Regions from separate parts of the Homo sapiens genome. Here region 2 is linked to region 1. The links are contacts of gene promoters, found by promoter capture Hi-C in human tissues and cell types (Jung and others, 2019). All regions are on one chromosome and are shown on one strand. The core of a region is centred on a gene start or on the middle of the fragment in contact, and the rest is flanking DNA. Distances in the headings are between cores, read along the strand shown. Region 1 holds the start of SLC7A5 (solute carrier family 7 member 5). Region 2 overlaps JPH3 (junctophilin 3).

What was found. Contacts are between HindIII fragments. The study calls those that stand out against the background at their distance.
Region 2: a contact is called between a fragment that was not itself captured here and the fragment with the promoter of SLC7A5 in region 1, in 1 of the 25 tissues and cell types used here (H1 embryonic stem cells).

What each region holds. Positions count from the first base shown.
Region 1 is chr16:87,867,489-87,871,991 of GRCh38, reverse strand. SLC7A5 (solute carrier family 7 member 5) reads left to right here and starts at 2,485. Exons shown (of 10, transcript NM_003486.7): 1 at 2,485-3,107. The coding sequence starts at 2,570. RefSeq lists a cis regulatory region at 122-448, enhancers at 410-1,171, 528-1,727, 1,172-1,931 and a silencer at 2,172-2,521. The HindIII fragment of the contact is 6,482 bases long and covers 430-4,503 here.
Region 2 is chr16:87,619,869-87,624,020 of GRCh38, reverse strand. The region is part of intron 1 of JPH3 (junctophilin 3); the gene reads right to left. Among named protein-coding and RNA genes, the nearest start is that of JPH3, 19 kb to the right of the region's middle. RefSeq lists enhancers at 2,882-3,726, 3,727-4,152. The HindIII fragment of the contact is 4,846 bases long and covers 346-4,152 here.

The DNA.
Region 1 (4,503 bases), core at 1,236-3,735:
GCCACTGCACTCCAGCCTGGGTGACAGAGTGAGACTCCGTTTCAAAAAAAAAAAAAAGAAAAGAAAGTATTCTCCCAACCAGCTCAAGCGAGAGTGCCACAACTTTTTTTTCTTTTCTTTCTTTCTTTTTTTTAACCTCTGAAAATACACAACATGTGATAAATTACTGACTGGAGCTGAAAAGACCATTGTCCTGCCTCTGTAAAAATCAAAACGCTGCCGAATCTTTCCAACAGATGGCACTCTTTGCTAAGATTCTAGAGTCATAGCTTTCAGGCGAAGGCGTTTCAGGGCCGGCATCAGGGACGTCTGAGAGGAGTAGATTTGCTGGATAAATCTAGAATGTTGTCATATGAAAACCCAGTAAAAACCGACAGAGGTGGCGTAATAGCTGTGTGACTTGAACACGCTCATGGCTGTTGTCACCCTTCCTGCTTAAGGGCTCCAGCACTTGCCAGGAGCCTGGCTCTGGGGGCACCAACCATGACTTGCACCAACTGTGCAGGGCCCCCTCTGTGCCGGTGGGGACCCCTGCACCTCCCTTATTAATTCTCACTCACCCTGGGCTCTCAGCTCCAGGTACCACCTCAGAAAAGTCTATCTGGACCTGCCTGGTCCCTGTCGCTGTCGCTGGCTCACCCTGTCATGTCCTTGGCTTATCATGGTTGTAATTTTATGCTTTGGGGTATGACTGTTGGTTGCCTTTCTTGTTACTCAAAGAAGAATGGTGGAATGATTAAAAGTACCATATAAGTTCAGAGTCAAAAGGACAGCTCCCAGGCTACTTGCTGGCCGGACAAGCGAGGTAACCCTACCAAGCCTCAGCTTCCTTATTTGCAAAATGGCTCTAACTGGCACCTACCCTATTGCATAAGAAGCTGTCTAGGGGAGGACTCAGTGAGCACTCGGTGAGTTTGCCCAGCCATGGTGGTACTGTCTCCTTCCCTCTGCAGGCACAGCGGGAAGAATAGGGCAGATGGAGGGGTCTCTGCACCTTCCACAGCCAGCAATGTGGACGGCAGATTACAAGTTAGTATCTGTGTGACCTCCGCACTCCCCCGCCTGTGGCTGCCTGGGCTGCTGAGATTTCGCTCGGTTTTATCACCGCAGAGGAATGCCCGACATACCGGGGGGCGAGCAAGGTCCAGAATGACAAGCCCTGGCATTCCTCAGCCGCCCCCTCCCTGGGGTGGGGCCTGGACATTCCTGGCTGCAGCTAGAGGTCCCAGCACGACAGGGATTCTGACCCCCCTCCACCACGGCTATTGTTCAGAATTCTGTGGATTCCAGAGGCATCTGCCCAGCAGACTGTCTTGCTGTGAACACCCAGCTCTGCAACCGGTGTTTGCGTGTTTGCCCTGGGAGGCTGAACGCTCACCCAGAACAAAGGCCTCCCCACATGCCTGCTGTGAGCTTCCAAGGACTCGTTTGCACACACGCCAAGGAACCCCGGGGTGGGGTGATACTGAGGAGCTTCCTCCCTGACCCACACACACCCTTTGAACAGGTCTTTGGCCGCTCACCAGTCTGGTCAATCTCGGGGCAGTATTTATATTCCTTCCCATTTCCAGGCCTAGGAGCCTTGGCATCCTGCTCTCGCCTCTAACTGAAATTACCTCTCAACCCTTTTTAGCTAAGATGCCTCTCGCATTCCCTAGGAATAACAAGCTTTAAAGCCCCTTCACACTGAAGCCTGCCTTTGAATTCCCCAGGTAGATTTGGGGGTGGGGGTCTTATGGCTCCCAGCGAACCCCCGGTTCTGTTGATTAAATTGAGCTCAGGCAGATTGCTGGCTTCCCAAAGCCTGTGTTATTACTGCTTCTCAAAGCTACGGGCACCGGATCGCCGTCTTTGGCAAGATTCTTTTGGGATACAATGGGAATTACTGGGTGGCCTCGGTTCGGTTCTTCCCTCGTCCCAGTTCGCGGCTCACCAGCCCCACTGATGCAGCCCCCAGGCTGGAAGGAGGCTGCAGGAGCTTCCCCTCAGGTCATCCTCTCATCCCTCCCCCGTGCCCCAGGAGCTGGTTGTGGGGGCGGTTCCATCCCCTCGGCCCATCCGGGACAGGAGCCTAGGTTCCCTTCGGGGGGTACCCCAAACTCCATCCTTGGCCTCAGGCCAGCCCTGGTGCACTGCCCGCTCCCAGGCTTGACGAGAGGCTGCGGGCCAGTGGGTGAAGGGGCGCGCCCTGACTGCCAGGCCCCGCCCAGGCGCATCCGGGAGGACGGGCTGGGATGACGCGGGCGCCGGGAGGGGGGAGGTCGCGAGGCCGGGGTCTCCATGGCGCAGGAGGACTGGGGCCTTCGAGGACCACGCGGGCCTGGGAATAGCCCGCCAGGCTGGGCCGGACGACGCACGTGCTCCGAGCTGGGCCGAGGGGGCGGGGCTGAGGGACGGGGCCGGGCCACGGGGCGGGGAGGAGCCGCGGACGGTGGGCGGGGCCGGCGGGCCGGGGCCTAAAAGGCGGCGCGGGCGGGGTTCCTGACGCAGCTGCGGGCGGCGGGCGGCGCGCACACTGCTCGCTGGGCCGCGGCTCCCGGGTGTCCCAGGCCCGGCCGGTGCGCAGAGCATGGCGGGTGCGGGCCCGAAGCGGCGCGCGCTAGCGGCGCCGGCGGCCGAGGAGAAGGAAGAGGCGCGGGAGAAGATGCTGGCCGCCAAGAGCGCGGACGGCTCGGCGCCGGCAGGCGAGGGCGAGGGCGTGACCCTGCAGCGGAACATCACGCTGCTCAACGGCGTGGCCATCATCGTGGGGACCATTATCGGCTCGGGCATCTTCGTGACGCCCACGGGCGTGCTCAAGGAGGCAGGCTCGCCGGGGCTGGCGCTGGTGGTGTGGGCCGCGTGCGGCGTCTTCTCCATCGTGGGCGCGCTCTGCTACGCGGAGCTCGGCACCACCATCTCCAAATCGGGCGGCGACTACGCCTACATGCTGGAGGTCTACGGCTCGCTGCCCGCCTTCCTCAAGCTCTGGATCGAGCTGCTCATCATCCGGCCTTCATCGCAGTACATCGTGGCCCTGGTCTTCGCCACCTACCTGCTCAAGCCGCTCTTCCCCACCTGCCCGGTGCCCGAGGAGGCAGCCAAGCTCGTGGCCTGCCTCTGCGTGCGTGAGTACGGGGCGCGGGCCGGGGGTTGGGAGGTCGTAGTCTCTGGGTCCCTGCATCCTTGCATCACTACGCCCCTGGCTCCCACATCTCTACATCTTTACGTTCCTGGACCATCCCGGCAGTTCTAGGCTAAGGTCATTGGTCCCAGAAACCACGTGCGTTTCTTTCATTCATTCTTTTACACTTCTCCCCACAGGCTGGGAATATCTTCAGTGACGGGACAGCAGGGTCCCTGCCCTGCCCTTCGGTGGGCATTCCATTCCCCCACTTAAGCGGTTTAGGCAAGTGCCACCCTCCCGTTGGCCCCGCTGAGCAATACTCCCAGCCTCTTGCGTGGCACCCACGTGGAGTAACTGAGCAATCGGTTTACTGTTAGAGCTCCGATTGCTGACTGGTTGGTGAGAAGGAAATTGCAGTTAAAAAAAAAATCATTCATTTCTGCTCTCCACACCAGCTCGTCAGGAATCAGTGACACGGGCTGACTCATAAGAAAACAGTAGTAATAACATCGTGTGCGGGTAGTGACTGGTGCTGATTTAGGCTAAGGGATCCCCCCTGAGGGTTCCCAGTAGTGAGAGAGCGGAGCTTGGCTGCAGATTCAGTCTGTGTTGCAGTGAATGGACGTGCGGGTCCCAGGTTTCTCTGGGAAACAGCCATGGGGCTCCTGTTTTGGTGGGCATGGTGCTGGTGTGTTCTTCACCAGGCCAGAGATAACTGCTTTTCAAAATAGTTTTCTTTTTCTTTTTCTTTCTTTTTTTTTTTTTTTTTTGACACTGAGTCCCGCTCAGTCGCCCAGGCTGGAGTACAGTGGCACGATCTCGGCTCACCGCAAGCCCGCCTCCCAGGTTCATGCCATTCTCCTGGCTCAGCCTCCCGAGTAGCTGGGACTACAGGTGCCCGCCACTACGCCCGGGTAATTTTTTTTGTATTTTTAGTAGAGACGGCGTTTCACCGTGTTAGCCAGGATGGTCTCGATCTCCTGACCTTGTGATCCGCCCGCCTCGGCCTCCCAAAGTGCTGGGATTACAGGCGTGAGCCACCGTGCCCGGCCTCAAAATAGTTTTCTTGTGGGATTTCAGGGGGAAAATCACTTGTAGCAGATGCCACATGATTTGGTTGGGTGGCGTGGGAAGGTGGGTCTTGGCAATTCTCAGATTCATCCCATGGCATGGATCGGCCTGCATCTCAATAGTGTGTGTACACATTCAAGGTGGGAAGGGCTAATTTATAGTTGGGGTCTTGAGCCATGAAATCAGGGGAGTGGCTTCTGACTGGCAGGACCTGTTGGCGCTGTTTTCTGCCACACCGTACTTTGGGGGGGAGGGGGAGGGGGAGGCATTTCTTCATAAATGTGAGAATGCCCCGAGGGCAAGACTCAGCAGGGCTCTGTGTGGTT
Region 2 (4,152 bases), core at 1,519-4,018, 250 kb after region 1:
CACAGTTACCCTGTCCCCTCCCAGCTGACAGGGACACACCTAGACTTCTGGGCAACGCCAAGGCCATGTTTAATGGCAACACCCTCCATTCCCATTATGGGGGCTCCATGGTGGCTCTCAAAGGAGGAGGATCTTCCAGAAAGCTTGCTCTGCGGCCTCGGGGGACCCCACAGCTGGGCATGTGGTCCCCAGGGAGGACCCCACAGTTTTCAAGCTTTGCCCCTAAACCTCCAAAGACACCCCAAAATCTGCCCAGAGGGTCCTTGTGGCCCATGCGTTGTGGGGGAGTGTTCGGGCCAGGACCAGTGCAGGACTCAGAGATGGGGCCTCAGATTTCAGGCACCACTTTGGCTCCGAAGGAGGAGAGTGAGGTGAGGGGGTCCGGAACTCGGGGTCTGCAGCTCCCAAGGGGTTCACAGAAGGAAATAGAGGTTGTTTTGTTGGGGAATGAAATTGCATCCTTATTTTCACTAAGCTTTACTTGAAATTTAACATTTCCTTAAACTAGAAGATGCCTCAAGCCCACAGTGGTACTGGCCACATCGGTGACTCTGTCACTCATGGAAACGGCATGTCCCCCACACAGCGGGAGCAAACATCCCAGGATAGGGTTACCCCAGGTCCTGCCCTGGCTGGGGAGCCCCCCATGAGCCTCACGCCCACCCTGCTGGACATCAGAGCAGCCAGCCAGGGAGGAATGAGCCAAGGACATCAGTGTCCACCCTCGCCTGCCCCTGCAGCCCTCTATGGATACTGGCTCCGAGTGTCAGCCAGGCCTTGGGGGAGGGATGCTCAAAGCAAGGAAGGTGCTGAGGTCCTTGCAGGACCACACAGCTCCCAGGAGACCAGGACGAGAGCTTGGCCCACGCTGGAACCCAGGCTGGCTGGGCAGTATCCGGGGTGGGCAGAGTGGACTCCTCCATTGAGGCCCCCACTGCTGCCTCAGAATCTGTGGGGCTGGCCTGGGAGGGGCCTGGACACTCCTGTGGCTCCCCTGCCCACAGCCGACCTCCACCAGGTCCCCCTCTGAACTTACCCCCCTGTGGGACCCAGGTAGTAGCGGCCATCGCAGAGAAGGCAAGTCCTCTGAGACCCTGGGACCCCAGGGCCCTCTCATACCCCCAATGCCTTGCCAGCCCTGGAAGGGTGACCAGAGGCTGAGTTGGGGCAGGGCACTGGCTACACCACCTCCCCAGCCCCCCAGCCCCAGCCCACGCTCCCCATCCACTCCAGGTTTAGAGCAGGACCAGGCCTCTCAGCGGCAGGGTGGGGCGGGGGGGGGTCTGATTTATCAGGAGGAGACCCTGACCATCTCTGGGGCTCCCCCAGACCCCATGCACCCTCAGCTCCTCCTGCAGGTCCCAGCCCTCAGTTCCTCATGGAACTTCTTCTGAGCCCGCCTCTGGCAGACTTCCATCCCAGCCACAGCCTCGCAGAAGGGAGAGCTCTCCTCCTACCCCAGCCACAGCCTCACAGAGGGGAGCTCTACTTCCCGGCCCTGCCACAGCTGCTGCTTCACAGGAAGGAGAGGCTGCCTGCACGCCCCTCTGCAGCCAAGGGCCACAGCACCTGGTAGTCACTGAGAAATGGGAACACAGCTGGAGACACCCTCCCACCGCCAAAGGTCAGCAGCACCCGTTCTCACTCCAGCCACTCTCTGTCCTTGCTCACGGAGGCTTGGGTGCCCCCTGGGAAGCTGACCTCAGACCCAAGCCCAGGAGGAGAGGAGGAAATGGCTGGGCTTTCTGGAAACTTCCCCTGAGCCATCACCCAAGAGTCCTGGAGACGCAGGGACGCACAGGACCAGCTGAGGCCTCGGAAGGCAGGCAGCTCTGGGGCAGACGGCGGCAGAGAGGTAGCTTGTGGGGTGGCATGCGGCTGGCTCTGAGGCATCCCCTCCACCCCAAAGGGGCCCCCCCCTGACACCTGGAGCTCCTGCCAGGCTGCGTCGTTCTTCTGTTGGATATAAACCATCTCCCAGAACACCCCAGTGACCCCAGACAAGGTCACTCTGAGATCACAGTAGAGTGAGATAGAAACAGGTCACTGTGCCACCCACGATCACCAACCATCCCCCCTCTCGACTAAGGGGAGGGGCGGCTGCTTCTTGACCCATCTCCGCATTATTTTGGTGCAGGTCTCCCATGTCTACAGGCGACAGTGACCAACGCACCCACAGGAGAATCGCCCCCTTTCCAACAGCACTTGGTCTAGTGAGCCCTACGTCCCTAGACTGTCCCCTCCCCACCACCCACCCAAACCCCAAACCCTAGTGGGGCTCTTCCCAACACCCTCTTGCCCCGTGGTTCCTGGGGGAGTGTCCACCCTCATTGCAGGGAGGAATAAACCCGGCCCTTCAACCGGAGCCTTCCGGGGGCTTGGCTGCCTGCATCCACCGTCTGAGACAGTCCCGGGTGTTTGCACAGCAATTGCTCCTGGCTGGCGGCTGTAGGTGGGTGTGTTTCTCTCAGAGGAGAATCACGAGGGGAAGCCCTGGGGCCTGGGGGGTTGGCCAACGCTCCTGAGAGCAAGAAGGCACTGGTGGGGATTCAGAAGCCCCCAGGCCCAGTCCTGTGGCCTTGGATTCACAGGGCTCAGAACCAGGCCCAGACCACCCTGAAGCCCCTTGCGCAGCCGCGGATCCCAGGTCTGGGCTGTTCCTGTCCCGAACCCCCTCCCCCGGACTCCGTCTATAGGATTTTGGAGTGGCCACCTCCTCCTGCCAGCAGCCCCTCCCGACACAGAGCAGATGGGGGCACTGGCCCTGGCACTCTGGGCCAAGTCGGGTCCAGCTGCCAGGGCGAGAAGTTAGCTGCTGACCCCTGCGCTCCAGGGGACCAGTTTCTTTTTCTTTTTCCTTTTGAGACAGAGTCTCGCTCTGTTGCCCAGGCTGGAGTGCAGTGGCACGATTTCGGCTCACTGCAACCTCCGCCTCCCGGGCTCAAGCAATTCTCCTGTCTCAGCCTCCTGAGTAGCTGGGACTACAGGCGCCCGCCACCATGCCTGGCTGATTTTTGTATTTTTTGGTAGAGATGGGGTTCCACCATGTTGGCCAAGCTGGTCTCAAACTCCTGACCTCAAGTGCTCAGGCCTCAGCCTCCCAAAGTGCTGGGATTATAGGCGCGAGCCACCGTACCCAGCCCAGGGGCCCAGTTTCTTTCGAATGCTCCTAACAGTTCCAAGAGACCTCTTCACAGGGCCAGACTGAGGCAGGCGGGCAGGGAGGCCCAGTGCCGCCCCAACAGCAGAACCGTGTGGCCTTGGGAAATTTGCCGCATCTCTGGCCTCAGTCTCCTCCTCCGGGCAGCAGGAGGACAGCGCCTCACAGGGCTGCTGTGTGGAATCCAAGGAAAGACGCAAAAAGAGCTGTGGTGTAAACGCAGGAAACAGCACCATCAAAACCTGGAAGGGAGGGGCGAGGAACAACGCACGTCCCCCCCATGGCAGGACTGACGTTCCCCCTCTGCAGCCCTTCCCCTCCCTCTCCTCACAGCCCACCCCTCTCCCTTTTCTCCTTCTTCCCCTCCCCCTCTCCCTCTCTTCTCTCCTTCTCTCCCTCTCTCTCCTTCTCTCTCTCTCTCCCTCCCCTCCCACCTCTCTGCTAACCACACCCCCATCCAGGCTCAAATGCTCCTTCCCTTTGCCCCCCGTCCCCGCTCTGGCCCGCTCTGGCCCATGACACCAGGACCCTGCCCCTATGGGTGACTCCTGGTCACTGTCGCTGCAGCCCCACCCCCCTGGCCTCTGCTGTACTCTTCCACACAGGAATGCACCATAAACTTGCTCACGATAGGTCTCTGCAGTGTGGACATAGCCACCCAGGCTCAGCCTGCGCTGGGATCCCAGTCCCCATTGCTGGCCTGAGGGACCCCAGAGCCCAGGTGACTCCCACACTTCTCCCTCCCACGCAGTACTGTGGGCTGGGACCTCTGTTTCCCAAGGGGTTTACCTCCGGCTCTTGTTTTTCTTAACAACTGGACTGGCTCTGGCACACCCAAGGGTGACGTGTGAGGGCCCTTGGGCTCCTTGCGCACTGGGTCCCAGGGTGGCCCTGTTCCTTCTGTCCCTGGTGCTCACAGATGCGCCTCCTGAAGTCTGGGAGGCCCCATGGTTCCTCCCCAACCCGCTCACCAGCCTCACTCCCTAGAAGGC